Linked DNA regions of Homo sapiens: region 2 is linked to region 1. Evidence: promoter capture Hi-C in 16 types of primary human blood cells and fetal thymus (Javierre and others, 2016). All regions are on one chromosome and are shown on one strand. The core of a region is centred on a gene start or on the middle of the fragment in contact, and the rest is flanking DNA. Distances in the headings are between cores, read along the strand shown. Region 1 holds the start of HERC1 (HECT and RLD domain containing E3 ubiquitin protein ligase family member 1). Region 2 has its middle 26 kb from the start of MIR422A.

What was found. Contacts are between HindIII fragments. The CHiCAGO score rates a contact against its expected background, and 5 or more counts as called.
Region 2: a contact is called between a fragment that was not itself captured here and the fragment with the promoter of HERC1 in region 1, in 2 of 17 cell types (megakaryocytes and erythroblasts). The highest score is 7.8, in megakaryocytes.

The regions. Positions count from the first base shown.
Region 1 is chr15:63,832,097-63,835,911 of GRCh38, forward strand. It overlaps HERC1 (HECT and RLD domain containing E3 ubiquitin protein ligase family member 1), which reads right to left and starts at 1,852. Exons shown (of 78, transcript NM_003922.4): 1 at 1,731-1,852. RefSeq lists enhancers at 1,008-1,873, 1,874-2,737, 1,911-2,040 and a silencer at 1,241-1,670. The HindIII fragment of the contact is 17,710 bases long and covers 1-3,815 here.
Region 2 is chr15:63,895,201-63,899,015 of GRCh38, forward strand. No RefSeq gene overlaps it. Among named protein-coding and RNA genes, the nearest start is that of MIR422A, 26 kb to the left of the region's middle. RefSeq lists enhancers at 1,609-1,658, 1,859-1,908. The HindIII fragment of the contact is 5,326 bases long and covers 1-3,815 here.

The sequences.
Region 1 (3,815 bases), core at 602-3,101:
TCCAGATTTCCAACCTCCCTAGATATCTCATTCTGCCATACAACCTTGTCATGTGATTTGGGGGAAATATTATGACTGTTCTTTGCCCTTCCTAATGCTATCTTTTCTCAAATAATATAGCAATACATCTTAACTCACTTCCAAGATATATAAATGTGTATAGGTGCAGAATACGTGTGTGTGTGTGTGTGTCTCTATACATATATACGTACATTTATGCATAAGACAGGCACCTAGGACATTCAATTTTGCTTGTATAAACGCAGGCTATGGAAACACATATATCAAAGAGACATACTCATCCCACACTAATCACAACAGGCACTATGAAACAATGTCACAGAACAATTTTGGTCTAAAAATATCCAGTAGAAATCAATTTCATAAAACCTGAGGTAAATAGGTTTCTTCCCACTATGAATAATCATAGTTTCTTTCCCTTCTACAAATACTGCCCCATTTTGAGCAACCACCACTAACAGAATTGTAAAAATATAATATATACATAGGTACTAGACCCAAACAGACAATGTTTTAACGTTTGATTTTTCAAACCACTTAGCTAACAATCATTTTGGAAAAGGGCCCAGTGAAAAAGATAGTGATGGCAGAGTTCAGCCAGTGATAATGAACTAGCAGCCAGTTTTAATCAAGCAGGCCAGAGAACTGATTCAAATAAAATAAATCATTTTTGGAACAAATATAGAATGAGGAAGTCCCAAGCAAGGATAAAAAAAAATGTGTCTGTTAGGAAATACAATAAAATGTTAACCATGAAATGCCACCTCTGGAGATGGAATTACAAAGATGGGTTAGTTTGTTCAGATTTGTTATTCCCATCATTTAATTATCTCTATATTCTAAGTATTATAGACATTTCTTAAACTAAGACAAATCTGTCCCTGTGTTTCACAGCTCTCTAAGATAACATGTCTTTTACATAACCTCCTGGGAGAGGTGGTACAAGCTCCTGTCCTCCTCGTGTCTCCCAGTAACCTGCCACCCATCACAGAACAGATTTCACCATGTTCCCCGGGGTAGCTCCTGTCATCACCATCATCATCCTCATCTCACGCTTAAGACTAAACAATGCGCCCCGCCTCGCCTCCCGGTTGCAAAGGCTTTATAATTTGTTGTTTTATTGGGGCGGGAGATTTGGAGAAAGGTTTAGCAGATGATGAGCTGCCCTCACCCAAAGGCAGAGGAGAGGAGGAAGACACGTCGTCCCAGCCTCCACCCCGCTAAAGGCGGCCGGCGCCTGGGGACACCGGGGTCGCGGCACTCCCCGGACCCTGAGAGGGAGTCGGCCGCCGCCCGCGGACCGAGCCCCAGCCGGGGCAGAGGAGCTGGTCAGCAGATAAAGGAATGAAGCAGAAAGAGACGCGACCACAGCGGGGCCGGGGCACAGACGTTGTAAGCCGCTGGAGGGGCGGGTCTCTCGGCCCTCTCCGCGGGCGCCTCGGCTTCTACGCTGCTCCGAGGCGCCCGGGCGGCAGGAGGCCTCTAGAGCCGGGGACCCGGGGGATCCGCGGCGCGCCAGGAGGGCTCCCCCAGCTCGCCTGCCGCCCACCCGGGACCCCAGCAGCCCCGCTCGGCTGCAGTCCCGAAACGGCCCCGGCCGGCCCTGCGCGGCCGGCAAAGCACACACGCGCGCGCGCACACACACACACACACACACACACACACACACACACAGGACCAGGAGGACGGTAGATGATGCGTTACCGTACGTGGCTCTGGAGCTGGCGGGGTGGGGCGCGGCTCCGGCGACCCGAGCCCGGCTCCGCAGAGGCTGCGGCGGTCGCGTCCTTTATTTTTGCTGCAGCAGCAGCGACTTGTCAAAGGGAAAGACGTAAGAGGCGGCGGCAGCAGCGGCGGCGTCAGGCGAGTCTCACGAGATTTGGGCGGAACTCTCGCGCAGCCGGGAGCCCTCGCCCCGCCCAACAGGCCCAGCGCGGGAGGTGAAAGGGGAACCGAGAGGAAGGCGGCTGAGGTGGAGTTGGGGGTTGAGCGAAAAGGGGAAAGGGATTTGGGAGCGAGGGGAGCCAAGCTAGGTGCTGGGGACACTTTGCTACCGCGCGGCCCTCACCCTTCAGCCGTCGCGGAATCCGGGCAGCCCCGACCGCCTGCGGGGACCTGACTCCACAGATGAAGCACAATTGGGGGCGTTTCACAAAGGGTGGTGAGGAGTGGGGGGCCATGCAGTGCGCCCCCTTTTCCTCGTGGTGGGCAGGGAAGACCCCGCCGCCAGGCGAAGGGACACGTGTTACGGCCGGCGGCAGGGCCAGGGCCTCACCCCTTTATCTCCGCCTCGCACCCGGCGCCCCACGCTCTTTATCTCTCATCGCAGCGGCCCCGGCCCTCCGGCCGGCTAAGTTCAATCACATAAAAGCGTTTCACTTGACCTACTCTTCCACCTTGTTCATGTCTTTGCGCCTTATGGGACTGCCAGAACCCTGCAGATGCCAGGGCCTGGCTCCTCGGTTTTCTTTTCTGCTTGGGAACACAGTAGTGTCCTTTGGGTGACTTACATCCTTGATCATGACCTCGACCTCCACGTGAAACCCCATGAGGGGAAGGACACAGACTGGCTCAGTCCTCACCATATCTCCAGCGCCTAACATAGGTCCAAGTGGACATTAAATTGTTGAGTGAATACCCCATCTCCATCTTCCTCCTTCTGTACCTGGTTTTACTCCTTTCCAGCCACCTTCATGGTGTCTTTCCTTCCAGATATTCTAACGAGCATCAATTAAACTGACCGATGACTTGGGGACAAAAAATAGAGTTGGCCTCTGCGTTCCAGAAGTTTGCAATCCAATTGGAGGCGTAGGAGAAGCACACAAACATACAAGCCATGAATGTGTCACTAATGTAAGAAATTACGGTATAGACAGACGAGGGAGTGCTTTCCCATGGTTAAATTAGATACATGTTTGTGTGTCACATGAGGCAGTTTAGTCCAAGAGTTAGGAGCCATGTGCTTCACTGTCAGACACTGGTGGGAATTCTGGAATCCCACTTACCCCAGGTGTGTGACCTTGGGCAAGTTGCTTGACCTCTCTGAACCTCAGTTCCTTATGTGTCAATTTATAATGCCAGTTCTTGTTATCACAAGGTTCCTCTGAGGAGTAAAATATATGTAAAGCTCACATACGGCACATATTAAGTACTCATTAAATGATGGGTCTTAGGTGTGTAGCTTTTAAGTTTCTATGTATAAAATGTGTATTTCTGGTAAATGATGTAAGGGAGTAGCTACATGAGGAGTGATGTCATTGTTGCTAGTGCTTTATGATCTGGGTATTGTGTGTGAAGCATACTCAAAAACAACAAGCAAAAGCTCCTCCTTTTAACTTGTTGATGTCATCTACGTCACTCACAAATATGATATTCTGTCTTTCTTGAATTTGTAAAATTGTACTGGTTTTGCCCACTTTTTCTTTTTCTTTTTTTTGAGATGGAGTTTTGCTCTTGTTGCCCAGGCTAGAGTGCAATGGCACCATCTTGGCTCACTGCAACCTCCGCCTCCCAGGTTTAAGCGATTCTCCTGCCTCAGCCTCCCAAGTAGGTGGGATTACAGGTGTGTGCCACCATGCCTGGCTAATTTTTGTATTTTTAGTAGAGATGGGGTTCCACCATATTGGCCAGGCTGGTCTCGAACTCCTGACCTTGTGATCCGACCGCCTTGGCCTCCCAAAGTGCTGGGATTACAGGGGTGAGCCACCGTGCCCAGCCTGGTTTTGCCCATTCTATTTCAAGAAAAGGACTGCTTACTTTAAAGACCAATCAAGAGACTCCCTCTTTTACCATCT
Region 2 (3,815 bases), core at 331-2,830, 63 kb after region 1:
AACCCTCCCCATAGCTTGCTGAATAAAGGCCTAAGCCTGGGTTGAAGCCCCTCTTTATCTAGCCCCCTTCCCCACCGCAGCAGGCCCCACCCCAACAGGGTGCCCCGCGTCCCCAGGGGATACCTTGCTCTCTCCTACCTCTGTGTCTTTGCTCAAGCTGTTCCTGGCCTGGACTCTGCAGCCCCCTCCACCCATGTGAATCCTCTTATCTGTGAAGCGCACTCAAAGGCTACTTCCTCTGGAGGCCTGCCTGGGCCCCCATCCCTCGGAACACAGGACTCCTTCCTCAGCTCCCAGCTTAGCGCCTATTTCATCCTTGTCACTGCACTGTGGATTCCTTGAGGACATGAACTATCTTTTCCCATCTTTGTCTCTATATTTGCTAAATAGATATGACCCCAGAAGACAGAACCAGGACAATGGATGGATCTGCGGGGAGGCAAACTTGAGCTTAACCTGAGAAAGAACTTGTAACAACCTGAACAGTTTGACACCAGCCCTTAAGGGTCCTGCCAAGAGATCCTGAGCTCCCTGTCGCCCCTGGGCATCTTCAGTGGTGTTGGACGAGCATCTACAAAGTCTCTGAAACCCCTGCTTAGACCAAGTACTGACTACCTCAATGTCCCTCCTGGGGCCCTCTCTCCCCAGGAGAACCTGACACCCCCCCATCAAACCCGCTGCCCAGCATGCCAGACCCACAAGGCCCCACAGGCTGGCTGGACCTTACTGGAGACCAGTGGTCACAGCAAGTGTGACATTTTGTCAGTGGCCTTCACTGTCTGAATACAAGGAGTGACCAGTGGTGACACCCTCCTGCTCCAGGCCAGCCTCCCTGCCTTCCTCTGATCACCGCCTCCCCCGAAGGACCAACCCCACCTCGATGTACTCACATCGCCTTTCCTTACCTCATCCATATCTCACGTGGCCAGGGGAAGCAGCTCATCTATGGGCAAGCTGAATATCCACAGGTGCGCTCCCAGCTCGGGCTCCTTAGGAACAGGAATATCCTCCTGCAGAATATTCTCCAGTGCCTTCCCCATGCTGGGTGCATGTAAATGCTCAGATGTTCATTTCCTGATGTGCGTTTCCCATCGATGTCCTGCTGGAACCCTTCCCTCACAAGTGGTGCTCTCCCAGGTGTGCTCCAGCGGGCAAATGCCCTCCTCACCCCTCCCCATCTGATATTAGGAAAGAACCTGTGAAACCCATTCCAACCAAGAAGCCTGGGACTGAGGCTTTCTGCCCCTGCCATCCCTGGGGAAACGTTACTGTTTAAATCCGATAAGCGTGAAAGCCTCGCTTGATTGCATGGCAGCTAAGCATACTATGTGTAGTGGTGTTTATTTGCTGATTGGTTGATTTGGAGAGGAAGGAGAAGGATTTTCCAGAGTCTAGACTCTTATGGCTTTGTGGGGCTTTCCAGGGTCAGCATCGATTGTGAAAGTTTGGTGAGCTTGGCAGTTTGTATCATTTAAGAAAATCTGCCCGGGCTTCCTCCCCCACCAGGAAGTGTCCCATCAGTTCCAAAGCCCTCAGCTTAGTTATTGGAAAGGCCTGAGAAAGCCACGACCCAGCGGACCCAGCTGGGGAACACCTGGGTCTCAGTTCACCTTCTGCCAACCTCTAGGTCTTACGAGCATTCCTGTTTCCTCTCCTTCCCTGGGCTACTTGAGGTCATGACCTTCTGAAAGAATGCAGGGTCAGCCAGCCTGGCTGAAATTTCCCCTCCGTGGGTGTGAAAGGCGATATGTCCAACTGTGAACACACAGGGCCCACATCCTTATGACTCAGCAGATGCGGCTGTCCTCAACCACATCGCCCAGAATGTCACTCTGACCTGCCTCAGAGGTCTGACAGCAGAATAGATTCTGCAAAGCCTGGGCCCAGGAGGCGCTTTCTCCATGAGTCCTTTTGGACAACACACATTCACCCAGACACACACTCAGATGCACACACACACACACAGACACATCCACTACAGAGACAGATGTGCACACACTGATACCCAAACGTACCCCAAACGCAGACACGCGGACATGCACAGACACCCAACACACACATGCACACACAGGCCCCCGGACAGTCAGATACACACACAAAGACATCCACACACACAAACACCCAGACACATCCACACACGTCCACACACCCCACAGAGACATGTCCACAACGGGTGCCTAGGTATGCCCAGAAACACACAGTTACCCGAATACAGCCAGACACACACACACACACACACACACACACACACACACACACACACACAGACTCCTCCAGAGGACTCAGGAAGAATCAGATCTGTCCCGTATGCCTGACCTTGAATGCCTCTGCCAACCCCAACAGATGGCCACTGGCTCTCCGACAGGGCCCTCTGGTCTCTGACCAAGAACCAGGGTCACAATGGACAGAGAAGGGGAAAATGGTAGAACTACTAATTCACCACCGTGCAGTTAACCCGCAGAAGTCTCATTCTTTCATTTAATTGGTAGCTTTCCAAAGTTCAGCCACGAGAAGGCGTAAGGACAAGCAATCAGAATACTAACCCATAACTTCCTGTCCCTTCTCTTAGCACCCATCCTTTAAGGCCAAATTAAAGTCCACCTTGTTCATATAGTCCTCCAGATTCCCAGAGTTAGAAACCGCAGCTTCTCCCATGCGCCCCTCATGTCATGCTTCTTGGTCTCTTTTTTTTTTTGAGATGGAGTTTCACTATTGTTTCCCAGGCTGGAGTGCAATGGTGCCATGTTGGCTCACTGCAACCTCTGCCTCCCGGGTTCAAGCGAGTCACCTGCCTCAGCTTCCCAAGTAGCTGGGATTACAGTGCCCACCAGCATGCCCAGCTAATTTTTGTATTTTTATTAGAAACAGGGTTTCACCATATTGGCCAGGCTGGTCTCGAACTCCCGACCTCAGGTGATCCACCTGCCTCAGCCTCCCAAAGTGATGGGATTACAGGTGTGAGCCACCGCGCCTGGCCCACCATTGATTTTTTTTTTTAAAGACGAATTGAGTACCAACTGCTCTGTTCACAGCTTTCTTTTCCTTTTTGTCTTTCTTTAAGAGACAGGTCTCACTGCAGTGACTATTCACAGATACAATCATAGTTTGCAATGTAGCCTCCAACTCCTGGACCCAAGCAGTCCTCTCGCCTCAGCCTCCCAAGTGGCTGGGACTACAGGTGCACCACTGTCCCCAGCTGACAGCTTTAAGGTGAGTGCAGTGGCTGTGTCAGTCCATGCCTGCCAAAGGAATCAGTGGAGACAAAAAGAAGGAGCAAATTCAAACTTTCCTCCTTTTGCCCTCTCTCCTATGTGGGTTCAGATTCTTCAGGAAGCAGATGCCAAGATGGGATGAGAAGTGCTGGAGACCTGGGGTGTGGGATGAGGAACGCCTATGAAGGATGAAGGGGAAAGGAAGCAGGAGTAGGCAAGGGAGAGCTTTCAGGCCATGATGTAGGTGTGACACCTAAGGAAGGAGGGTGGGAAGGAAGGAGGGCTGGCTAGGAAGTGCCTCTGATGGCAGAGCAACCCAGAGAAGGGCTCAGCCAGGTGATGAGCAGTCCAGGGGCAAATATTAGAAGGGTCCCATGCTGGGCAGGAATGGCCTGGTTCGAGTACCCGCCGCGTGTCTCCCATCCCACCATGCTCAATCACTGGCCAAAAGCAGCCTACGGAGAGTGAAGACCTTGTGGCTACTCTGAGAATGCTCTGAGAATACCTGGGCTGGGATTTTTATTCCCCTTTTAAGGAGAAGGGGTAGAATATACCCCTGCCCCTCCCAGCCCTGCCTCCTCAAACATCGCCTCCTCTTGGAGT